6 separate regions of the Homo sapiens genome follow, and all the other regions are linked to region 1. Evidence: promoter capture Hi-C in 16 types of primary human blood cells and fetal thymus (Javierre and others, 2016). All regions are on one chromosome and are shown on one strand. The core of a region is centred on a gene start or on the middle of the fragment in contact, and the rest is flanking DNA. Distances in the headings are between cores, read along the strand shown.

Region 1 (2,700 bases), core at 196-2,695:
TTTACAAAAAATGTTTTACAAAGAAGTATTGTTTATTTTCTATGGATAGATTCAGTAGGCATGTTTTGCATGCAAAATAATTGATAACAGTGGTTACCTCTTGGGAGAGGTGAAGGCCGTTGGAGAGAGGATCAATGAACACTTAAGTGCTTTAAAAAAATAATTATTAAGTATATTGGAATATAAAGGAAACCATATACATCCAGCTGTGTCAGGCTTTTTACCAACATGAGTTTCAACACAGGCCTCTACATAGTCTTGGCTTTTTTAGGCACTGATAATAAAGTAAATTTTTATTTGAAAATTCTTGAATAAAGGTTCTTGCTGGTCATACAGTATATTATGTTTTAATCAACAAACTTTAACAGCCCGGAATTTATTATTAGTAATAATGTGTTATATATTATATGTAATGTAATTTGCTATATATTAATATATGTTACTATTTATTATGTATTAGTAAACTGAAAAACACCAATTTGTAAGCGATGAACTTACAAAAATTTACACCTGTCTTTTGCAACCCATAAATACCTAAAAATAACAGCATCTGATAGCAACTTTCTGTGCTGATTGTAGAAATTTCTGTACTGTCTGTACTGTCATGACAACCCTAGCAAAAGCTAAGTACTAGATTAGAGTGTGTGCACAGCTGATTGTGAAGCTGCATGAGAGAGGTGCTTTATTAATCCCCAAAGCTCACTACTGTAATTTATACTGTTAAGAATAAAAACTGAAAACATAAGTGCTTTCCAACTATAAAGTTCAAGTTCAAGGATTCATTGGAAATAAGCCAGAAAGTATATTTTTATTTTAAAAATTAAAACAAACCACCCAAGGAAAATAGTATTCTTAGGTAAAGTGTTTTGTTGTTGTTTTAACTAGCAAGGAAATTCTCAATTTCTATTTCACAGGAAAGAACAATGAAGAATTTTTCCATCACACATACCCAGCCTCCGTTTTGCCTTATCCATTCTCCTGTGTTATTCATTATGAACTCCGCAACAAAATATGAAATCTCCTTATAGGTATCCACATCCGGGGCAATTTGCTGTCGTAGAAGTTTCTTGATGAGAATACCTTCAAATGCAAATATGGTTACAATTCTTCCCCAGTTAATGATGCCGTCTTCAAACTCCTTTTCCATCACTTGGTTGAATAGTGTTCTGGCAGTGTCTACGGACACAACATTAACATTGTCCAAGCATGACTTCAGATTCTTTTCCACTTCTTTTTGGACTGAGAACGCAACATTTTGTAGCACTCTGGACGTTTTGCTTGGACCTGATCCAGGTTGTGGTATCTGTAGGACGCACTGCAGATAGTCCTGAGCCAGCCTGTAAATATATCCAAATTCACAGTCTGTCATCTTCTGCCTGGTGGAGAGCAAAGTCTTGAGCTGGCTCACCTTGAAGCTGTTGAGGCAATGTGCTGAGAATGCTCACTGAGCTTGACTGAGTTATGACACATGATGATACATGGAGGCTGGTGGAATTTCTGTTTGCATCACTTTATAATATCCTTCCTCCTAGTCACTTTCGTGCGTAGGCTGTGTTTCATGTCATGTATGAAAGAGAAAGTTTAAAATGTGAAAGAGGAAAATGTTTCAGAGAAGCCACTTCCTCATCCTGTGATTAATTCAGCTTTGCAAGTCTTAAATGCAGGATGTGGAGAAATTAGAATCCTTGTAGATTGCTGGTGGGAATGTGAAATGGTACAACCCCTGTGAAAATGTTGGCAGTTTCTCAAAAAGTTAAATACAGAATTGTCAAAAGACCCAGCAATTCCATTCATAGGTATACACCCAACAGATACTCAAATACTTACATACGAATGTACATGGCAGCACTATTCACAATAGCCAAGATGTGGACACAACTCAAATGTTCATCAACAGACGAAAGGATAAATAAATTATGGAACATTATTCATCCCAAAAAAGGAATGAAGAACTGATACATGCTTCAACAGGAATGAACCTCAAAAACATTAGGCTAATAGAAAGAAGCCAAACAGAAAAGGTCATACATTATGTGATTCTATTTCTATGAAATATCCAGACAGTTAAATCCATAGGATAGAAAGCAAATTGGTGGTTGACAGGGGCTGAGAAGAGGAAGGAGTAACTGCTTAATGGGTAGAAGGTTTTCTTTTGTGTGATGAAAATGTTTTACAAGGCCGGCCGCGTTGGCTCACGCCTGTAATCCTAGCACTTTGGGAGGACAAGGCGGGCGGATTGCCTGAGCTCAGGAGTTTGAGACCAGCCTGGGCAATATGGTAAATCCCCGTCTGTACTAAAATACAAAAAATTAGCCAGGCGGGTGGCGTGTGCCTGTAATCCCAGCTACTCGGGAGGCTGAGGCAGGAGAATTGCTTGAACCCGGGAGACAGAAGTTGCAGTGAGCCAAGATCACGCCACTGCACTCCAGTCTGGGCAACAGAGCGAGACTCTGTCTCCAAAAAAAAAAAGAAAAGAAAATGTTTTGCAGCTAGATAGAGGTGGAAGTTGCACAACACTGCGAAGGTACTAAATGCCACTGAATTGTTCACTTTAAAATGGTTCTGTGAATTTCAAATTTAAGAAAAGTCTTAAACGCCATCCACGGGGTAAACCGGAGTAACGACAATTTGGAATGGAGACTACAAAACAGCCTGGGTGGCAGAGAACAGGGCCTCTCGAGGTGACTCTGGCAGTACCGC
Region 2 (2,700 bases), core at 135-2,634, 610 kb before region 1:
TGAGAACAGCCTGGGGCATATAGTGTGATCTTGCCTCTATAAAAAAAAAAAAAAAAAATTAGCCAGGTGGTGGCATGCCTGTCCAGCTACTCAGTCTTCCTGAGTTCCAGCTACTCAGGAGGCTGAGGTGGTAGGATTTCTTGAGCCTGGGAGGTTGAGGCTGTATGAGCCTTCATCATGCCACTGCACTCCAGCCTGGGTGACAGAGTGGGACTCTGTCTCTAAAAAAAGTTTAAATAAAAATTAAAAGTTAATATAAAATATTTATTTATGTATAAGAATTGATATGGTTTGGCTCTGTGTCCTCACCCAAATCTCAGCTTGAATTGTAATAATCCCCAAGTGTCATGGGAGGGACCTGGTTGGAGGTAATTGAATCATGGGGGCAGGTTTTTCCTGTGCTGTCCTCATGATAGTGATTAAGTCTCATGAGATCTGATGGTTTTATAAATGGGAGTTCCCTGCACATGCACTCTTATCTCTGCCTGCTGCCATGTAAGATGTGACTTTGCTCTTCCTCTGTCTTCTGCCATGATTGTGAGGCCTCCCCAGCCATGTGGAACTGTGAGTCCATTAAATCTCTTTTCTTTTTAAATTACCCAGTCTCAGGTATATCTTTATTAGCAGCATGAGAACAGACTAATACAAGAATAATTGCAAACATTCTAAAAACAAAAAAGAGGGATAAGATAATGTGTGCTATCAGATAATGTAGCATTTCCAAGTTACAGTATGAAAATTGTTTGATTAGGGGTAGACTGACTGACAAAACACAGCAGTCCAGAATCAGATGCAGGTATACACAGTAATTCATTAGATGAGAAAAGTTTATGTCAGAGGGAAACAATGGACTAGTGAATAAATAGATTAGGAATAATTAGGTAACTATTTGAAAAAATAGTTTTATGTCTTGTATCATATATGAACACAAATTCCAGGTGGATTTGAATGTTTAAAAAACTGCACACAACAGAAAATATAGGTAATTGTTATTTACACATCCTTTATTTCAGAAAGAACTTTCTAATCATACAACAAAGGTAGAAATTATAAGAACAGATTAATAGACCAGACTAAAAACTTGTAAAACTTCTGTATATCAAATATAAAAAATGACAAACAGCAAACCAGGAAAAATCCTTGCATACTGTATCACAAAGAAATGGCCAGTGACTTTATATTTAAGGAATGCTTATAATTTGCTTTTTAAAACTCCAAGTGACAAAGAACTACAATGACTCAAAAAAAAAAAAAAAAAAATCTCCAAGTGAAAAATGACAGCCAAAGAGAGAAACAAGTCATTCACAAAGGAAACACAAATGGCTGATGAGTATATGAAAGTGACTTCACCCTATTTGATGATATATAATATTTTTACTAAAACAATTACAGTTTACAACTGAGCAGCAAAACAATACTTTTAAAAGGAAATTGTTAATTTTCTCCAGTTTTAACGTAAAGCAAAGGCAGATTTGATTATTTTTGTACTCTAAACTCCTTTCCATTGTTACCAAACCGAACTTGGGTCCACCCACCTGGTGCAGCAAAGCTCAACACTGACACCGGGATCGCAGCAAGACAAAGTACGGCCTTTACTACAGGGTGCCAAGCAAGGAGAATCGGGAGGCTCATGCTTAAGATCCAAACTCTCCGATGTCTTACAGGTAAGGGTTTTTTAAGTCGGAGAGGCAGAGATTACAGCCAAAGGCATAAATCAATATAATGCAGGATTTTTGCTCCTTTAGCTCAGCTAGGTCCAGGTTCTTGTCTCACAACCAGGAAAAATTAGGCATGCGGACACCATAGAGTGAGTGGAGTAGTATTTTTTAAGCAAAAGGAAAGCTCTCAGCAAAGAGAGGGGTCCTGAAAAGCAGGTTGCCGGTTGGCCCTTCACAGTTGAATACAAAGGCTTTTTATATAGAAGCTGATGGGACTGGGTTCCCTATTTGTATAAGGCACGAATTCCTGGTGGCTCCACCCCCATTCCCCCAGTGTGCATGTGGGCTCTTAGTCCCCTGCGGGCATGTTTAAGCAAGCCCCCTGTGCAAGTTCCCTTATATGCATAAAATATCTGGTGTAAGCACTTGTGGGCCAGGTCGGAGGTTCTCCGGGGGCTCTTTCTTTACTGTCTGCCTAAAGCAAGCTGGCTAACTCCTTTTGATACGGATAGGAGACAGAGAAATACTGGGTAGAAGAGGTCGGTTCCCCAGCAAAGGCCCCACCCCTCGAGCCTGGAGCCCCATGGCCCTAAGTGGGAACAGGCATTTCTGTTTTCATTCCCAAAAAGTTGTCTTTTGGCCTGCCATGCCCCGATCCTGCACCCATATAAACCCTGAACCCCAGGTTCCAGGAGCAGACAAGCAGATGAGGAGATGAAACACGCAGATGAATGGTGGAACGACACAGCAGAGAAAGAGAGAAGAGGAGGAATGTCTGAACACCGAGAGGAGTTCAGCTGGGGGCTGTCAGAGAGGAGTTTGGCCACTGGATGGCCAAACTCTAGGGGCAGATCATCCTCTCACTGCATCCTCCCAGCTCCCCATCCATCCCTCTGAGAGCCACCTCCACCACCCAGTAAAACCCCACATTCATCCTTCAAGCCCATGTGTGACTTGATTCTTCCAGGACACTGGGAAAGAGCTTGGGATACAGAAAGGTGTCACACCGGCCCTCTGCCCTTGCAAAAAGGCAGAGGGTCCA
Region 3 (2,700 bases), core at 201-2,700, 560 kb before region 1:
AGTTTTGAGCTTAAGACACTGACTCCCGAGGTGGTCGGAGCCATAGGGCATCTGCAAGGAAGTGATATTTAAAGCTGTAAGAGGTATTTTAATGACATCATTTGAAGGAGAAAAGAGAAGTCAGCCCCAGAGAGAAACTTCAGGGATGCCTAAATGTGAGTGAGAGGAGGAAAGAATTGAGCCACGGAGACAGAGAAGGAGTGGGAAGAGAGGTGTGGGGAGAACTCAGAGAGAATGGCCCCTGGAAGCCAGAAACCCAGGGTCCAGATCTGGGATGGTCAATTCTGTGCTGTGTGGCTTTGCATAAATCACTTGACCTCTCTAGGGTTTCATTTTTCTCACCTTTAAAATGCAAGTGGTGAGAATTCCTGCCTCCCAGCCTTGTGCGATTCAAAAGAGGAAGGGCATAGAAGTACCACATGAAGTATTTTAAAGGTATAGCATCTTTCCCAGGGCAGAGAAGAAGGGCCCACGGCTTCTCTGTATTCACATTTTTATCTCACTGTGAATCTCTCTTTTGGTCTCTGTAATTACATTGTCCTAATACAACTTAAATTAGAAAGATACAAGAAAACTTGACTCAATATAGATTTCTTTGTTAATTTAAGTACAGAGCTTCTCTCAAAAGCTTGATTCCATGATTGCTTTTCTGAAGCCTAAAACCTGAAGCTTATATTCCTGAAGCCTATAACCTGCATTACTAAGAGGGCAACAAGAAGTCTTTAATGCCTGGCAACACATTTCCAACTGCAGGATGCATCCTATAAGGACAGGTCGAGGAGTTACAGTCTGCAAGTGCAGAGAGAGACTTTTCTTGATGAGCAAAGGTTCATTTGAGGCACTACTTTGGAACACTCCTTCTCAGTTCAATTTGGCACTTTCAGATATTCAGTGCCAATCTTCCAACCAAAGGATGTCCTCACAAATTTCTATAGATAAAACCATTATAGGAAATCAATGCGCTCCTGCATTTTCCAGTATAACACAGCCACAATGCCCCAGATATAGGCAGGGGAACCAAGAGGTAATGATTGGAGGTGGGGCAAGGGAGGACCCGTATTCCATTTGCAAAGTCACAAACACTGCTCAGAGTTCATGCAAATGGGCCCGCTAACATTAATTTGCTGGACAATTGTTTCCCAGTGTGAGCCTTAATTTCTTCATGTGTAAAATAAGGTCGTTGGAATAGATTTCTTATACATCTCTTTTAAAAAGAATATTCTGTGTTCTTTATTGACCATTCAACCAAATAAAAGCACTTTGTCTGAATGTTTTCCTCAGCCTTCTGCTCTTATTAGAAAGTTTTGGTTCGTATTGTAAGAAAAGAATGCCTTTGGTTTGCCTGGAGCCGAGTGACAGCTATGTATTATGGGTGAAATTTTGTTAATAGTGAAGAGGCCAAGGTTCTAGTTTGGCTGCAGCAAACAACTTGCCATGTGACTGTAGATTAATCATTTTGCTGTTCTGAGCCCAATTTTCCTGAACTGTAAAATAAGCTAGAGGATACAGAAGAAATTGGTAACCTTAGTTGCCCCTGTAGAGGGGTAAACTAATACCCGAAGATCCATTTTAGGAAATTTTGTGCTGAGTTTAGATAAGAGGTATACTAGATTGGATTGGTACTTTTCACTACACCCTATGCTCCTTTCATACCCGATGAATTTTACGCCGCACACATATGCCACCTATTCATTAAGTAAATAATTGTTTAAAATGAAAAATAAGTTCATAGGCCTGGGAGGTTTATATATTTCCTTCCAGAAACATAGCCCATAATTCTATATGCTTAGAATGGTTTATAGTGTTCCCTTTCTTTATCAGCCTCATGGTTAAATAAACAAGACATTAAATATTATAGATTCATAGAAAACTAGGTAAAATGACAAAGCAACCCATTCTAATTCAGGATATTAATAATTGTGAAAAGACCCAATTTTTCCCATCGGAATGAAGCATCTGTTCCTTATTACTGACAGTATAGGAGAGGGTGACGCTGTCATCTAATTGCATCTTCCTAATTGGGGAGAGCACTTGGAGGGGCAGCTGTGATGTGGCCAGCAAAAGAGCACAACTATCACAAAGGCAGCCAGCATGCCAGACAGGATGTTCACTGCAACTGGATGAAAATTGGTTTAGGTAATACAGTAAATTCCATCACCAGCTTAATTTAACAGGAAATGACTGCTATTGGGGACCTACAAAATATTCCTTGAAGATTTCCCATAGGTGTTTAAGCTTTAAATTGTGGAAAAAAATAAGATACATGTGAAATATATATATGTGTATATGTGTGTGTGTATATATATATATATATACATTCTCGTAGATGCATGTATATGAATAACAGCCCAGGATAAAGGAAAAATAAAATTATGAAAGTTGGCAGCAACCTCTCAGAAGCAATGATTTGCAAGTGCTTCAATCTAAATTATAATTTCCCAAGTCTATCACAATACATTTCCAGAAACATGTCCTGCCTTTTTAATGAAAATATATTGACAGGAATGTCACATCTATACGATAGTGTTTTATGTGTCTTTTGACCCCTGATGTCAAAGCATTCTCTTTATATTTGTCTTACTGATTTGTAACCCGAGAACAAGAAACATGCTGGTTGCTCATAATTAGCAATAGCAAAGAAATTTTCAGAATTCCAGAACTGATCATTTTATTTAATCACTTAAGGTATGCGGGAAGAAA
Region 4 (2,700 bases), core at 98-2,597, 630 kb before region 1:
ATGAATTTGGGGGAACCTCATTCAACCCAGAGGGCCAGCAAGAAGAGAACTGGTAACTGAACTTTGGATCTGGCAAGGTCGAGATCGTTGGTGACTTAACAAGAGTAATTTGTACGAAACATTGGAGGCAAAGACTTCACTGTAGTGAGCCCAGTGAGATGAGGCAGTGTGAAAGGGAGACAATGTTTTATAGGAGTTTAACTTTAAAGCTTTGCTGTGTTTGAGCAGTAGCCGGAAGGAGATGTGGAAGAGACTGTTTTTGTTTTATAATTTGAGAGACAGAGCAGCATATGGGAATTTAATGGAAATGCTCACAGAAAGAGAGAAAACAGGGGGACAATGAAAGACATATAAATATAGAGAGCTACCAATCAGGAAGAAGAGGACCACCAACTCAATAGAAAGACTGGGCCAAAGATCCAGACAGGGAAGAAAAATAGAAAGCTCTTTTTAAAAATTTATTTACTTTATTTTTTATTAACTTTTAAGTTCAGGGGTACATGTGCAGGTTTGTTACATAGGTACACTGGTGTCATGGGGGTTTGTTGTACAGATTATTTCATCACCCAGATATTAAGCCTAGTACCCATTAGTTATTTTTCCTGATCCTCTCCCTTCCCACCCTTCACCCTCTGATAGGCCATAGTGTGTTGTTCCCCTTTATGTGTCCATGTGTTCTCATCATTTAGCTCTCACTTATAAGTGAGAACATGCAGTATTTGGTTTTCTGTTTCTGCATTAGTTTGCTAAGGATAATGACCTCCAGCTCCATCCGTGTTCCTGCAAATGACATGATCTTGTTCTTTTTCTGGCTGCATAGTATTCCATGGTTTATATGTACCACATTTTCTTTATCCAGTCTATTATTGGTGGGCATTTAGGTTGTTGATTCCATGTCTTTGCTATTGTGAGTAGTGCTGCAATGAATATACACATACATGTGTCTTTATAACGAAACAATTTATATTCCTTTGGGTATATGCCCAGTAGTGGGATTGCTGGGTCAAATAATATTTCTGCTTATAGGTCTTTGAGGAATCATCACACTGTCTTCCACAATGGTTGAACTAATTTACATTCCCACCACCAGTGTATAAGCATTCCTTTTTCTCCACAACCTCACTAGCATCTGTTATTTTTTCCCTTTTACTAATAGCCATTCTGACTGGTGTAAGATGACATCTTCTCATGGTTTTGATTTGCATTTCTGTAATCATCAGTGATGTTGAGCTCTTTTTTATAAGATTGTTGGCCACGTGTATGCCTTCTTTTGAAAAGTATCTGTTTATGTCATTTTCCCGCTTCTTAATGGAGTTGTTTGTATTTTTTCTTGTAAATTTGTTTAAGTTCTTTATAGATGCTGGAGTTAGACCTTTGTCAGATGCATAGTTTGCAAAAATTTTCTCCCATTCTGTAGGTTGGCTCTTCACTCTGTTGATAGTTTCCTCTGCTGTGCAGAAGCTCTTTAGTTTAATTAGATCCCATTTGTCAGTTTTTGCTTTTGTTACAATTGCTTTTGGTGTCTTTGTCATGAAGTTTTGCCTGTTCCTATGTCCAGAATGGTATTGCCTAGGTTGTCTTATAGGGTTTTGATATGGTTAGACTTTGTGTCCCCACCCAAATCTCATTTTAAATTGTAGATCCCATAATTCCCATGTGTCGTGGGAGGGACCAGGTGGACATAATTGAATCATGGGGGCTATTCCCACCATCCTGTTCTCATGATAGTGAATAAGTCTCACAAGATCTGATGGTTTTATAAAGGGCAGTACCCCTGCACATGCTCTCTTACCTGCCACCATATATATGTGCCTTTGCTCCTCTTTCACCTTCCACCATGATTGTGAGGCCTCCTGAGCCATGGGAACTGTGAGTTCATTAAACCTCTTTTTCTTTATAAATTACCCAGTCTTGAGTACATCCTTATTAGCAGCATGAGAACAAACTAATCAGGTTTTTATAGTTTTGGGTTTTCCATTTAAGTCTTTATTCCATCTTGAATTGATTTTTGTATATGGTGTAAGGAAGGGGTCCAGTTTCAATCTCCTGCCTATGGCTAGCGAATTCTCCCAGCACCATTTATTGAATGGGGAATCCTTTCCTCATTGCTTGTTTTTATCAGGTTTGTAGAAGACCTGATAGTTGTATGTGTGTGGCCTTACTTGAAACATCATCAATAATGAGCTCTGAAATTGAGCCAGTAATAAATAGCCTACTAACCAAAAAAGCCCAGGACCAGAAGTATTCCACAGCTGAATTCTACCAGATGTACAAAGACGATCTGGTAGCATTTCTGCTAAAACTACTCCAAAAATTTAAGGAGGAGGGACTCCTTCCTAATTCATTCTGAGGCCAACATCATCCTGATACCAAAACACGGCAGAGACACAACAGATAAAGAAAACTTCAGGTCAATTTCCTAGATGAACATCAGTGCAAAAATCCTCAACAAAATACTGGCAAACTGAATCCAGCAGCACATCAAAAAGCTTACCCACCATGATCAAGTAGGCTTTACCCCTAGGATGCAAGGTTTGTTCAACATATGCAAATCAATAAACATGATTCATTACATAAACAGAACTAAAGACAAAAAACCCACATGATTATCTCAAGAGATGCAGAAAAGGCTTTCAATAAAATTCAACACTGCTTCATGTTAAAAACTCTTAGTAAACTAGGTATTGAAGGAAAATACCT
Region 5 (2,700 bases), core at 124-2,623, 650 kb before region 1:
GGGCCAGGAGAATGCGACTTCAGGAAAGCCAAGCTCGAGGGGCTTCCAGGCTTCCTGAGAATCTGGGAAGATCCTGGTCAGAGCTGAAGGTTTCTGACAGAGGTCAAAGGCCAAGAGCTACCTCCCTGGTGATCTAGGAAGGATTAAAGGTTTTCTTAAGTGCTCTGATGCCAGCTTCTACTTCCCTGTCTTTGAGTTCTTGAAGAATTTGAAGAAGCAGATACTTGGGTCAGGGGAGGCCTGATGAGGTGAGGGCTGCAGGAATTTGTCAGTGGTTACAGACTGAAGACCTCGGCATCCGCTGGTGGCTGGGACAGGATGGGATGTCAGCGTGGAGATGGAGGAAAGGGATGGTGCCAGAGGTGGGATGGGTCAGGGTGTCCTAGAGACCGACAGTCACCATGAAGTGGCAACTATAATCCCTGTGAGGCTCCAGGACACTGGAAGCCAGCCAGGACTGGTGGTCTTAGCAGGGCGGAAGGTCACACACGAGGAGACCTGGGGACTCGTGGCCTGGAAAAACAGGACCCTGAAAACAGAGGGGTTCTGTTGGTTTTCTGCTGGGTGGGAAGCTGGCTGAGGGACTGCCTAACTGAAATTTTGTGGTAACAGGCTGAACAAGTTTGCTTTAGATGAGCACTAACTGAAGATCTCAGCGGATGGGGAAGTAGCATGTTTTTGTGGTGAGGGTGAGCATCCAGGTAGCTGTGATTCTTGGGGATGATTCTCGGGGATGTATTGCTCTGGGGTCTCTTGCAGCGTCTGTGCAAGGTCCTGAAGGCGTCTGCAGGTGTTAGTTGCCAAGAAAGCTGTAGAGTATCACCTGTTGCTCCGTTACCCTCTTGGAACTGGTCCCTTTGCTATCACTGATCTGATCTGAGATTGTTCCTTTAAAGGCCACGAGGCCTCTTCATGCAGTCTCCGTGCCGGTTTCTGGCCTGTGTCGCTGGATCTAGGCCTTTAAAGTGATGCTTCACATAAATATCTGACTCATCCTCTGTCTTGGTGTCTACACCTGTGATTTCTGTGTCCTCCCTCTTCTTTTTCCCTTCCTCCTTCCTCTCCAGTGACTCTGGGTCCTGGGAGAAGGCTGGAGATGCTGACCAGTACTGCTGAATTCCCAGGCCAGGGCCTACGGTCCAAGGAGTCCCCAGTCAAGTGAGTCTAGTTGTACACTTTGTTTCTGAATGAGTTTGTGACACATAAACTTGGAGAATGGAATTATAGCCTGGAAAATCAAATGAGCCCTTCCACAGTGTTCTCTGCGGATTTGTACATACAAACATGTATGCATATGTGTACATATGAATACATATGTGTGTGTGCCACACATACATATACACATATACTACCTATGACCATGATACATACATGTATACACTTATGTGTGTGTCTCCATCCCTCCCACTGATTTCAAGAATGATCCACTTTGTTATGAAGTCCTGTGATTTCAGTGCCATCAATTTCCCTCCAGTCCACTCTTCCCTGACATGGCGACCTTCTTAACCGAGGCCTGCATCTTCTCTTCCCAGTAGAATTGCAGCCACCTAAGTGGTTTCCCTGCCTCTAAACTGGTTCGCATACATCCCTTTCTGCATCATAGCTGCCAGAGGCAGATTCTCGTAAAGTGGGATTCCGATCTTGCCAATCTTCTGCTCACAGAGCCACACGATAAAGTCTTGGACCTCGAGGCCCTTTACTGTGAGCTTCCACCTCCCCACAGCTGCTTCTCCACGCATCCCCATCACCATGTCAGTCCCTGATCCCAGACCAGGCCCTGTACAGTTCTTTGCCTGTGCTTCTGCTGCTTGGGATGTGTTCTCAGCCTGGTGACGTCCTGCCCATCCATCAGGGCTCAGCTTGTCGTGTCCCATGTCAAGTACTCCATCTTCTCTGGCAGGCTCAGCATCTTTCTCCTGGGGTGTTCCTGCCGCTCTGCATACCCTTCTGTTGTTGGCTGTTTATACTGCATTCTAGTTGAGTAATTTTTTCTTTAAATTGGGAACTTTCTGAGACCCAGGACTGTGTCTGGCTCTGATTCTTAATTCCCTGGGCCTAGCACAGTGCCTGGAAGGAAAGTAAGCATTGAGTAAATGTTTGAATGAAGGAATTAGTGGAAGTGTGAGCTATTCAAACTCAGCCATGATTTGAAATCCTTGTAACCTCATCCTACAAGTGTCTATCCTGAGTCCCCCAGCCCCACCTTCAATCCTTTGTGATTTTCCAGGGATCACCAGGGTGATGTAAATACAGAACGGATTTGTGTTACCAAGTCTGCCTGTATAGGTAGTGCCTGGCAGGGAGCACTAGGGAGGCTTCTAGAAATGGCATATCTTGAGTTAGCTTTGACACAGGTTCACATAGGTTAAGCCCGACTCCACATTGACCTCTTTCCTGCTTCCTTCCCAGTTTAGTGTCCTGTTCCATCTGTGACAGCTGACATGCTTTAGTGAGCTTTGGAAGCATTCCCCGGAGAGCTAGGAGGAGCAACCACAAATGCGACCATTGTCCCCAGTGCAGAGGCCTACACCTGAGCTTTCTTTTCTGGTGGTTGGCCTTTGAAGCCAGTTGGCTTTGGAAGTTCCCTTTGGAGTCAACTTCCTGATGTCTGGAACCCTTCTTAGGATCATTTGTTCCTTTTTCAATATCAAATGTCTGCAGGTATAGCCCACCTACCAAATGCAGGGAAGTGAAGAAGTC
Region 6 (2,700 bases), core at 29-2,528, 580 kb before region 1:
TCCCTGATCACCACATCCCCACCAACATATACTGTTTTTTGGTGTTTAGATTATGGCCATTCTTGCAGGAGTAAGGTGGTATCACATTGGGTTTCGATTTGCATTTCCCTGATCATTAGTGATGTTAAGTATTTTTTCTATGTTTGCAAGCCATTTGTATATCTTCTTTTGAGAATTATCTATTCATGTCCTTAGCCCACTTTTTGATGAGATTGTTTTTTTTCTTACTGATTTGTTTGAGTTTGTTGTAGATTCTGGATATTAGTCCTTCGTTAGATGTATAGATTGTGAAGAATTTCTCCCACTCTGTGGGTCGTCTATTTACTCTGCTGACTGTTCCTTTTGCTGTGCAAAAGCTATTTAGTTTAATTAAGTCCCAGCTATTTATCTTTGTTTTTATTGCATTTGCCTTTGGGTTCTTGGTCATAAAATCCTTGCCTAAGCCAATGTCTAGACGGGCTTTTCCAATGTTGTCTTCTAGAATTTTTATAGTTTCAGGTCTTAGATTTAAGTCCTTAATCCATCTGGAGTCGATTTTTGTATATGGTGAGAAGTGAGGATCCAGTTTCATTCTCCTACATGTGGCTAGCCAATTATTCCAGCACCATTTGTTGAAAAGGGTGTCCTTTCCCCACTTTAAGTTTTTGTTTGCTTTGTCGAAGATCAGTTGTCTGTAAGTATTTGGGTTTATTTCCGGGTTCTCTATTCTGTTCCATTGGCCTATGTGCCTGTTTTTATACCAGTACCATGTTATTTTTGGTGATTATGGGCTTATAGTATAGTTTGAAATCAGGTAGTGTGATGCCTCCAGACTTTTTCTTTTTGCTAAGTCTTGTGTTGGCTATGTGGGCTCTTGTTTGGTTCCATATGAATTTTAGAATTGTGTTCTCTAATTCTGTGAAGAATGATGGTGGTATTTTAATGGGGATTGTGTTGAATTTGTATATTGTTTTTGGCAGTATGGTCGTTTTCACAATATTGATTCCACCCATCCATGAGCATGGGATGTGTTTCCATTTTTTGATGTCATCTGTGGTGTCTTTCAGCAGTGTTTAGTTTTTCTTGTAGAGGTCTTTTGCCTCCTTAGTTGGGTATATTCCTAAGTTTTGTTTTGTTTTTGCAACTGTCATAAAAGGGGTTGAGTTCTTGATTCGATTCTCCACTTGGTTGCTGTTGGTGTATAGAAGAGCTACTGATCTGTGTACATTAATCTTGTATCCAGAACCTTTGTTGAATTCCTTTATCCATTCTAGGAACTTTCTGGAGGAGTCTTTAGGGTTTTCTAGGTAAACAATCATATAATCAGCAAACAGTGACAGTTTGACTTCCTCTTTACTGATTTGGGTGCCCTTTATTTCTTTCTCTTGTCTGATTGCTCTGGCTAGGACTTCCAGTACTACGTTAGGGAAGAATGGTGAGAGTGGGCTTCCCTATCTTGTTCCAGTTCTCAGAGGGAATGCTTTCAACTTTTCCCTATTCAGTATTATGTTGGCTGTGGATTTGTCATGGACGGCTTTTATTACATTGAGCTATGTCACTTGTATGCTGATTTTGCTGAGAGTTATAATCATGAAGCAATGATGGATTTTGTCAAATGCTTTTTTCTCCATCTGTTGAGATGATCATGTGATTTTTGTTTTTAATTCTGTTTATCTGGCGTATCACATTTATTGACTTGCGTATGTTAAACCATCCCTGCATCCCCAGTATGAAACCCACTTGATCATGGTGGATTATCTTTTTGATATGTTGTTGGATTCGTTAGCTAGTATTTTGTTAAGGATTTTAGCATCTATGTTCATCAGGGATATCAGTCTGTAGCTACCTTTTTTGGTTAAGTCCTTTCCTGGTTTGGCATTAGGGTGATACGGCTCCATAGAATGAATTAGGGAGGGTTCCCTGTTTCTCTGTGTTGTGGAAGAGTGTCAAAAGGATTGGTACCAATTCTTCTTTGAATGTCTGGTAGAATTCTGCGGTGAATCCATGTGGTTTTGGACTTTTTTTTTAATTTTTAAGTTACCATTTCAATCTCACTGCTTGTTATTGGTCTGTTCAGGGTATCTATTTCTTCCTAATTTAAATTAGGAGGGTTGTATTTTTCCAGGAATTTATCCATCTCTTCTAGGTTTTCTAGTTTATGTACATAAAGGTGTTCATAGTAGCCTTGAACCATCTTTTATATTTCTGTGGTGTCAGTTCTAATGTCTCCCATTTCATTTATTATTGAGGTTATTTGGATTTTCTCTCCTCTTTTCTTGGTTAATCTTGCTAATGGTCTATCAATTCTATTCATCTTTTCAAAGAACCAGCTTTTTGTTTCATTTATCTTTTGTATTTTTTTTTTCATTTCAATTTCATTTAGTTCTGCTCTGATCCTGGTTATTTCCTTTCTTCTGCTGGGTTTGAGTTTGGTTTGTTCTTGTTTCTCTAGTTTCTTCAGGTGTGGATGTCAGTTAGAATGTCAGTTTGTGCTCTTTCAGTCTTTTTGATGTAGGTGTTTAGGGCCACAGACTTTCTTCTTAGCCACACCTTTGATAGGTTTTGTCATTATTGTTGTTCAGTTTGAAGAATTTTTCAATTTCCATCTTGATTTTGTTTTTGACCCAGTGATCACTCAGGAGCAGGTTATCTGATTTATGTGTATTTTCATAATTTTGAAGGTTCCTTTTGGAGTTGATTTCCAGTTTTATTCCACTGTGG

Evidence for each region. The method cuts DNA at HindIII sites, captures the fragments that hold promoters and counts their contacts. A CHiCAGO score of 5 or more calls a contact.
Region 2: a contact is called between a fragment that was not itself captured here and the fragment with the promoter of BCL2A1 in region 1, in 2 of 17 cell types (naive CD8 T cells and naive CD4 T cells). The highest score is 8.6, in naive CD8 T cells.
Region 3: a fragment that was not itself captured here is called in contact with the fragment with the promoter of BCL2A1 in region 1 in 3 of 17 cell types (naive CD4 T cells, total CD4 T cells and naive B cells); the score reaches 6.5 in naive CD4 T cells.
Region 4: a contact is called between a fragment that was not itself captured here and the fragment with the promoter of BCL2A1 in region 1, in 2 of 17 cell types (megakaryocytes and endothelial precursors). The highest score is 6.6, in megakaryocytes.
Region 5: a contact is called between a fragment that was not itself captured here and the fragment with the promoter of BCL2A1 in region 1, in 2 of 17 cell types (naive CD4 T cells and total CD8 T cells). The highest score is 5.9, in naive CD4 T cells.
Region 6: a fragment that was not itself captured here is called in contact with the fragment with the promoter of BCL2A1 in region 1 in 4 of 17 cell types (total CD4 T cells, total B cells, naive B cells and 1 more); the score reaches 6.3 in total CD4 T cells.

The regions. Positions count from the first base shown.
Region 1 is chr15:79,969,751-79,972,450 of GRCh38, forward strand. BCL2A1 (BCL2 related protein A1) reads right to left here and starts at 1,446. Exons shown (of 2, transcript NM_004049.4): 1 at 950-1,446. The coding sequence starts at 1,369. RefSeq lists an enhancer at 870-2,069. The HindIII fragment of the contact is 17,831 bases long and covers 1-2,700 here.
Region 2 is chr15:79,362,263-79,364,962 of GRCh38, forward strand. It overlaps a transcript of TMED3 not described here. Among named protein-coding and RNA genes, the nearest start is that of TMED3, 53 kb to the left of the region's middle. The HindIII fragment of the contact is 3,282 bases long and covers 1-2,700 here.
Region 3 is chr15:79,408,402-79,411,101 of GRCh38, forward strand. It overlaps a transcript of TMED3 not described here. Among named protein-coding and RNA genes, the nearest start is that of MINAR1, 23 kb to the right of the region's middle. The HindIII fragment of the contact is 1,566 bases long and covers 668-2,233 here.
Region 4 is chr15:79,344,682-79,347,381 of GRCh38, forward strand. It overlaps a transcript of TMED3 not described here. Among named protein-coding and RNA genes, the nearest start is that of TMED3, 35 kb to the left of the region's middle. The HindIII fragment of the contact is 2,280 bases long and covers 208-2,487 here.
Region 5 is chr15:79,316,296-79,318,995 of GRCh38, forward strand. The region is part of intron 2 of TMED3 (transmembrane p24 trafficking protein 3); the gene reads left to right. Among named protein-coding and RNA genes, the nearest start is that of TMED3, 6.5 kb to the left of the region's middle. The HindIII fragment of the contact is 3,346 bases long and covers 1-2,700 here.
Region 6 is chr15:79,388,725-79,391,424 of GRCh38, forward strand. It overlaps a transcript of TMED3 not described here. Among named protein-coding and RNA genes, the nearest start is that of MINAR1, 42 kb to the right of the region's middle. The HindIII fragment of the contact is 5,671 bases long and covers 1-2,700 here.